Regions from separate parts of the Homo sapiens genome. Here all the other regions are linked to region 1. The links are contacts of gene promoters, found by promoter capture Hi-C in blood cells and fetal thymus (Javierre and others, 2016). All regions are on one chromosome and are shown on one strand. The core of a region is centred on a gene start or on the middle of the fragment in contact, and the rest is flanking DNA. Distances in the headings are between cores, read along the strand shown. Region 1 holds the start of TH (tyrosine hydroxylase). Region 2 has its middle 8.2 kb from the start of KRTAP5-6. Region 3 holds the start of SYT8 (synaptotagmin 8).

Region 1 (2,552 bases), core at 17-2,516:
CAGCAGATACAGGAAGCCCCAAGCCCTGTCGGAAACGGTTCTTCTCCAGGAGGGACAGCGGTGGCAGCGTTCAGCCGCAGGCCATGCACTCTGGGGCCACGTCCTTCCCTCTGTACAGTCCAGCATTGTCAAGGCAGGCTCTGGCCATCTCTGCTGACCCCAGAGGGATGGGGAGGCCTCCCCTTCCACCAGAAGGGCCAGAAGCCACCCTGGGCAGGGGCATCACTCTCCCTGGGTGGGGCAGCGGCTGGGAGCAGGAGGTGCCAGTGGGCGTGGGCTGGATGCGGGTGCCTGCGGGGCGGACATGGAACTTGGGGGAGGCTCTAGGCTGGGGTTGTCCTCAAGGGAGTTCTCAGGTCACCCCAGGGTCACCCTCAACCCGGGGCCTGGTGGGGTAGAGGAGAAACTGCAAAGGTCTCTCCAAGGGGAAGGCATCAGGGCCCTCAGCACTGAGGGACGTGCGTGCTCTTTAAAGAAGGGGCCACAGGACCCCGAGGGAAGCCAGGAGCTAGCAGTGGGCCATAGAGGGGCTGAGTGGGGTGGGTGGAAGCCGTCCCTGGCCCTGGTCGCCCTGGCAACCCTGGTGGGGACTGTGATGCAGGAGGTGGCAGCCATTTGGAAACGCGTGGCGTCTCCTTAGAGATGTCTTCTTCAGCCTCCCAGGGTCCTCCACACTGGACAGGTGGGCCCTCCTGGGACATTCTGGACCCCACGGGGCGAGCTTGGGAAGCCGCTGCAAGGGCCACACCTGCAGGGCCCGGGGGCTGTGGGCAGATGGCACTCCTAGGAACCACGTCTATGAGACACACGGCCTGGAATCTTCTGGAGAAGCAAACAAATTGCCTCCTGACATCTGAGGCTGGAGGCTGGATTCCCCGTCTTGGGGCTTTCTGGGTCGGTCTGCCACGAGGTTCTGGTGTTCATTAAAAGTGTGCCCCTGGGCTGCCAGAAAGCCCCTCCCTGTGTGCTCTCTTGAGGGCTGTGGGGCCAAGGGGACCCTGGCTGTCTCAGCCCCCCGCAGAGCACGAGCCCCTGGTCCCCGCAAGCCCGCGGGCTGAGGATGATTCAGACAGGGCTGGGGAGTGAAGGCAATTAGATTCCACGGACGAGCCCTTTCTCCTGCGCCTCCCTCCTTCCTCACCCACCCCCGCCTCCATCAGGCACAGCAGGCAGGGGTGGGGGATGTAAGGAGGGGAAGGTGGGGGACCCAGAGGGGGCTTTGACGTCAGCTCAGCTTATAAGAGGCTGCTGGGCCAGGGCTGTGGAGACGGAGCCCGGACCTCCACACTGAGCCATGCCCACCCCCGACGCCACCACGCCACAGGCCAAGGGCTTCCGCAGGGCCGTGTCTGAGCTGGACGCCAAGCAGGCAGAGGCCATCATGGTAAGAGGGCAGGTAGGTGCCCGGCGGCCGCAGTGGACCGGAGCCCAGGGCTGGTGCCAGCTGCCTCTGCTACTCCCCAGCCTGGCTGGCAGCCCCAGGCTCAGGGTCCATGCAAACCCCTGGGACGCGGCGTGGATGTGGAGGCCTGGGCACAGCGGCATCCCCTGTGCCTGGTGTTTGAGTCCCTGTTGGGGGAGGGTGAGGTGATGCCTGTCCCTGTGTGTGCCCCTCTTAGGCCGACCTCTCTCGGGGGTCGTGTGGGTCTCTGTGTCTTGTTTCATCTTGAATCTTAACGATCGGAATGTGGAAACAAATCCATCCAAAAAATCCAAGATGGCCAGAGGTCCCCGGCTGCTGCACCCAGCCCCCACCCTACTCCCACCTGCCCCTGCCTCCCTCTGCCCCAGCTGCCCTAGTCAGCACCCCAACCAGCCTGCCTGCTTGGGGAGGCAGCCCCAAGGCCCTTCCCAGGCTCTAGCAGCAGCTCATGGTGGGGGGTCCTGGGCAAATAGGGGGCAAAATTCAAAGGGTATCTGGGCTCTGGGGTGATTCCCATTGGCCTGTTCCTCCCTTATTTCCCTCATTCATTCATTCATTCATTCATTCATTCACCATGGAGTCTGTGTTCCCTGTGACCTGCACTCGGAAGCCCTGTGTACAGGGGACTGTGTGGGCCAGGCTGGATAATCGGGAGCTTTTCAGCCCACAGGAGGGGTCTTCGGTGCCTCCTTGGGCACTCAGAACCTTGGGCTCCCTGGCACATTTAAAATGGGTTTTTATTTATGGACCTTGATTGAAATGTGGTGTGAGTTGTAGCAGTGTCATTTCCAGGTACCTTCTCAGGGACACAGGGCGCCCTCCCCCGTCCTCCCCCGCCCTCCCCTACCCTCCCCCACCAGGCTCCCCATCAGGCATCCCCTCCCCAGGGCGCCCCGGGGCCCAGCCTCACAGGCTCTCCGTGGCCTGGAACTGCAGCCCCAGCTGCATCCTACACCCCCACCCCAAGGGTAAGTAAGAGGGGACTCTGGGAGGGGCTTCTGCTGCTCCCCTTCATGTTCCACAACCCTGGAAGCTCAGGATGAAGCTGATTCTTCTCTTACAAGGGGCCCAGAGCCTTCTTGGGAGTTCAGCTCCAAGGGATGAGCCCCAGGTGTCTGCCAAGTCCCCC
Region 2 (2,552 bases), core at 29-2,528, 470 kb after region 1:
CAGCTCTCAGCAGAGAGGGGAACTGGAAAGGGGACAGGGAGGGCAGGTCGTCTTCCCCAAAGTCAGGAGATCTCTTCCTTGAAGTCAGGCCTTCTCTCTCTCTCTACCAACTGAGTCTGGAGTCTTTATAGGCCCAGGACGGGGGCAGGCCAGGCCATAGGTAGTATTGGAAAAGGCAGTATTTGATTGGTTAAAAAGGCATTATTCAAAATGAACCAATCCGGAGCGAGCAGGCAAACAAGAATAGAAGTTTTCACTCTGGGCTGCAGGTTTCAGGATGTTTTGGCTTGAAGGTGAGGTTTCACTGGGGACCCACCCCCATCTGCCTGGGATTTGTCTGCCTCCTGCCTCTATTATATCCATGGGAGGAATTTAGTTTATAGTTTAACTTGTAAGCAAGGATGATAACGGTCCCGCCCTAAAACAAATCCCCTCCTTTTTGGGGAGCTGAAACTGCCTTTATAGGACTAATGAAAGACCACAAGATTAGAATTACAGGAGGGCATGAGTTCTGCTAAAATATAGGCATAGTTTCTATAATCCCCCTCTGCTTAGGAGTCATTTGTCCAGAGATCACAAGATTTGTGGCTTCCCCAGTTGCTCCTATAGATAATATCACTGTGGTAGAATTAAGATTGGTCTTTTGAGGTGGTTTTCCAACTGACCCCATGCAGACTCGTGACTCACGACTTGTTTAACCGTTCACCCGTTGAAGGATGTCTGGGTTGCTTTCACTTTGGGGTTGTTATCCACCCAGAGGCAGATTCAGGGCACAAGGACCATTTTCCACACCCCTGTGATTGCCCCCGCAACCAATGAGGAGCACCCATTCCCCAGCCCCCCACCCACCACACTGTCCTGGAAAAACCCTAACCTTCAAGCCTTCAGGGAGACGGGTTTGAGTGATCATTCCAGTTCTTCCACCTGGCAGGCCTTGCGTTAATTAAACATTTCATTTACTGCAATACCATGTTCTCAGAGTGAACTGGTTTTGTCTGTGCAGCGGGCGGGAAGAGCCTGTCGGGCAATTACAGAAACTGGAGGAGAGATAGTCTTGCATTCCTGGCTGTACAGCCTGGAGTGGAGCTTCTGTCTCACTGGGCTGGGAGAGGGCACACGCATTGGCTCAGATACCACAGACTCACACAGTTCTCACTAAGCTTTAGTCGATTTTCTTGAATAAATGTTTCTCTATTTGAAATGGCTACAGGGCCATTTGCAGATGCTTTAAATGGTTGTTGGGGGTGGGGTTTCGTTTGTTTTTGTTTTTAAAGTCTTCACCAGTTTCACATGGAAGTGGATCTCTGGAGTTCCCCCTCATTGTCACGCTGCAGTGGGACTGCCCTGTGACTTTATTATTTCATAGCATTTGAACATAAGATAATCACAAGCTTTCAAAGGACTAAATGTTCGATGAAGAAAATGGCACAGAAAAAAAAAATGTCCCTTCTAAATAAGGACTCACTTGGTCCTCCACCAGCAACCAGGAGCACTGCCAAGTGTGTCTCTCTCCTTATGACGTGACCTTTTATCTTTAAAGGACACTGAATTTCACTCACATTATTATTTCTTACACAGTGTGTTTTTATTATTCAAGGTCACTAAGACTTTCTCCTGTTTTATTCCAAATGTTTTATTGTTTTATATTCAACATTTAGGTCTATGATGGGCATAGAGTTAATTTTATATAAAGTATGAGGTTGAGGTTGAGGTTTTGTTTTCGTTTTGTCTACGGCGGTTCAATTGTTCCAATGCCATTTTTTGGAAACGGTTCTCCTTTCGCGCGCTGGTATGAATGCGTTCCCCAAAATTCATGCGCTGTAACTTAACCCCTGTTATGGTGTTACTAAGAGGTGGGGTCTCTTGAGAAGTGATCAAGTCAGGGCTTTGCTCTCAGGCATAGATTAGTGCCTCATTAAAGGGCTGGGGGGGATGAGCTTGGGTCCTTTTTGCCCCTTATGTTTTCCACCAAAAGGACACAGCAAAGAGCCTCCACCAGATGCAGAATACTGGCACCTTGATCTGGGGACGTCTAGCCTCCAAAACTGTGAGAAATGTACTTCTATTGTTTGTAAAATACCCAGTCACAGGTATTTTGTGATTGCAGCAGACACTTCTCCATTTAGTTGTCTTGCCCCTTTGTCATAAATTAGCGCAGTCTTGTGTGTGCGAGTGACATCTCAACTCCGTGCTTTTCCCTTGATCTGTGTGTCTACCCCTCTGCCCATACCACACTGTCTACATTGCTGTCGCTTTATGGAATGTCTCAAAGTCAGCTAATGTCATTCTTCCAACTATATTTCTTGTTTCAAAATTGTTTTGGCTATTCTATTTTCTTTTCTTTTTTAAATGTTTTCTTATTACACTTTAAGTTCTAGGGTACATGTGCACAACGTGCAGGTTTGTTACATATGTATACATGTGCCATGTTGGTGTGCTGTACCCGTTAACTCGTCATTTACATTAGGTATATCTCCTAATGCTCTCCCTCCCCCCTCCCCCCACCCCACGACAGGCCCCAGTGTGTGATGTTCCCCTTCCTGTGTCCAAGT
Region 3 (2,552 bases), core at 1-2,500, 340 kb after region 1:
GTGCACTTTTGTCTCATGTCTGTGTCCGGCCTGGGTGGAGACGCTGACCCGGGCATAGGGGTCCACGGTGCCCCCAGGCCTCAGGTCGGCTGCCTGCCTCAGGCCCACCCTGATCTGGGAGCCAGCGGGGTGGGCTCAGCCAAGGGCCCCTGCCCTGTCAGCTCCCCACCACCCAGGGCATGGGGTCTGCCCTTCCCCCGTCACCCTTTCCGGAAACTCGCAGAACCGCTGGTCCTGCGCAGCGGGGCCCTTCACCTCCTGGCTTCCAAAGTCGAACTCCAGGGAGAGCTGCAGGCACCCCCATTGCTGAGCATCCCCCGGGCTGGACTCCAGGCCATCCACATCAGGTTGCACCTGGAGTGAGTTGGGACAAGGGGCAGGTGGTGCTGACATCATGCCTCATCAGAGCCCTGGGCTCCCGGGCAGCCCTTGCATGACATGGGTCAAGACCCCCCGCCTCCAGGCCAGGCCACCCAACAGGCACAAATCGTCGGCTTCGCTCTGTGAGACCGGCCAAACCCACCCAAAACGTGGCATCTGGGGTACCCCCTGCCTTCCTCAAGAACCCGCTGTGGCTCCCTCGGGCCCATGGGGCAGCCCCTGTTGCATGGCCTCCTTCTCACCTCTGTTCACCCACTTTCCCTGCCAGGAAGGTCCTCAACGCCCTGCCTCTGTGGGGGTTAAACCATCCCTGGGGCTGAACTCGCCTCGCTGCCCTGGGCTCTGGAGCCTGGATTTCAAGCCCTCTCTGGACTGAGTGAGCAAGGAGCCGCTCCTCACCAGGTGGGTGGTGGTGGTGCCGCGGGCACTGCCCAGACCCACGGACTCCTTGTCCCTGGGCTTCTTCCTGTGGCGGCGGCAGCAGCAGCAGGCAGCACAGAGGAGGCAGGAGACGAGGAGGACGCCCGCGGCAAGGGCGCCGGCAATGAGAGCCCAGCGGGGCCCTGGGGTAGAGGCCAGGCTGAGTGCATCTGTGGACAGCTGCAGCCCCCACTTGGCTGGGTTATCCCCACACCCCTCTTGGGAATCCCACAACTCACAGGGGGTCCCGGCGACAAGGTCTGGAATAAGCCCAGGTATAGCTGTGGTGCCAGCTGGGGCCGGGGCACTGGGAGAGACTGGTGGGTGCCCCATCTTTCTACCCTGCTGGTTTGGAAGAAGCGGCCCAGGAGGCTGGGTCAGCTGGGAGGGTGGCCCCTCCGGCCCCTGCCCGCTACCCCATCTGACTAGCAGCAGCCAGTGCTGGGTCTGCCAGGGCAAGGAGGCAGCACGGGGTGGCCAGGGGCGAGGGTTCTGTGCAGCAGGAAGCTGAAGGGAGGGAGGCTCTGGACCCTGGCCAAAGCTCCAGCTTAGCTGCCCAGGCCCAGCCTCCCAGCCACCTCCCAGCAGCCCCCAGCCCCAGCCAAGCAGGCAGGGCCTGGGCAGCCTAGTCCCTGCCTTCACCGGACCTCAGAGCACCCTTGCCCCCACTGTAGGATGCGTCCTCCACCAGGAAGCTCTCTCCCTCCCTGCTTCTCTCTCCTGGGCCCTGGACCCTGGGCCCTGCCTGGGGGTCCCATCTCATCCCTGGGGGTCTCATCTCTGCGGTCCCATCACTTCCTTGCCTCTACCCCAGCACGCACCACAGCTGGGGCCCACCATGGTTTGCCAGCCATGCAGGTGGAGCATGTTCACTGCAGCCCCCAGGAACTTGGAAGCCCAGAGGGGTCTGCAGGGTCATGGCGGGAGGAGCAGGGCTGGCTGTCGGCGGAGCTCACTGAGCAGGCCTGGGCTAAAGGTGCATTCCTGGCAGGGGCTCAGGGCCGCAGCGCCTGAGGATGAAGGTGAGGTGGTGGCAGGTAGGGGCAGGGTGCAGCTGGGAGCGGCCAGAACATTCCACACACACTGACTCAGCCGCTGCCTGGACTCGTCCACCTGCCTGCCTGGCCACCCTTCGGCATGTGGGTGGGAAGGAAGGTGGGGCGGGCGCAGCTGCTGGCCCCTGTACCCGCCTGCCTAGGGCCTGGGGAGGGAGCACACCTGGCTGGGCTGGCTCCTGTCACCTACAGGCAGGGGAACCAGGGTGCTACATGGGGCCTACGGTGACCCCAGGCCCAGGGTGACTCCCCAGCTCAGCTCTTCCCTGACTCCACCCGCTCCAGAGAGCAGCAGCCAGCCAGGAGACTCTGTTCCTCCACATTGGCGCCTCCCCTGCTTTGCCCACAAGAGCCTGGGACCCCTCTTGCCATGTCCAAGTCAGCCTGGCCTCAGGGGCCCAGCCCAGGCCATCCCATCGGGAATAAGCAGCTGTTGAGGCCAGATACCCTCACCTCTGCAGCCCCCCAGTCTGGGGCAGAGCAAGGAGACAGACAGAAAGGGACCCTGCCATGACTCCAGACACACACACACACACACACACACACACACACACACACACACACACACGCACGCGCACACAGCATCAATGCCCCACTCCCTGGCAGGCTGGGAGAGGCAGCTGCACTCCCAGAACGGACCCAAACCCCCAGTGTTCAGATGAGGGGGCTGCAGCTCAAGGAGGGGAGGGAGGGTCC

The links. Contacts are between HindIII fragments. The CHiCAGO score rates a contact against its expected background, and 5 or more counts as called.
Region 2: a contact is called between a fragment that was not itself captured here and the fragment with the promoter of TH in region 1, in 3 of 17 cell types (M1 macrophages, naive B cells and monocytes). The highest score is 6.9, in M1 macrophages.
Region 3: the fragment with the promoter of SYT8 here is called in contact with the fragment with the promoter of TH in region 1 in 1 of 17 cell types (endothelial precursors); the score reaches 5.7 in endothelial precursors.

What each region holds. Positions count from the first base shown.
Region 1 is chr11:2,170,529-2,173,080 of GRCh38, reverse strand. It overlaps TH (tyrosine hydroxylase), which reads left to right and starts at 1,266. Exons shown (of 13, transcript NM_000360.4): 1 at 1,266-1,384. The coding sequence starts at 1,295. MIR4686 (microRNA 4686) reads right to left here and starts at 18; the gene lies at 1-18. The HindIII fragment of the contact is 9,589 bases long and covers 1-2,552 here.
Region 2 is chr11:1,704,081-1,706,632 of GRCh38, reverse strand. No RefSeq gene overlaps it. Among named protein-coding and RNA genes, the nearest start is that of KRTAP5-6, 8.2 kb to the right of the region's middle. The HindIII fragment of the contact is 231 bases long and covers 1,163-1,393 here.
Region 3 is chr11:1,833,688-1,836,239 of GRCh38, reverse strand. It overlaps SYT8 (synaptotagmin 8), which reads right to left and starts at 1,250. Exons shown (of 8, transcript NM_001394072.1): 1 at 1,041-1,250; 2 at 781-944; 3 at 256-354; 4 at 1-114. The coding sequence starts at 1,134. RefSeq lists an enhancer at 2,060-2,552. The HindIII fragment of the contact is 25,919 bases long and covers 1-2,552 here.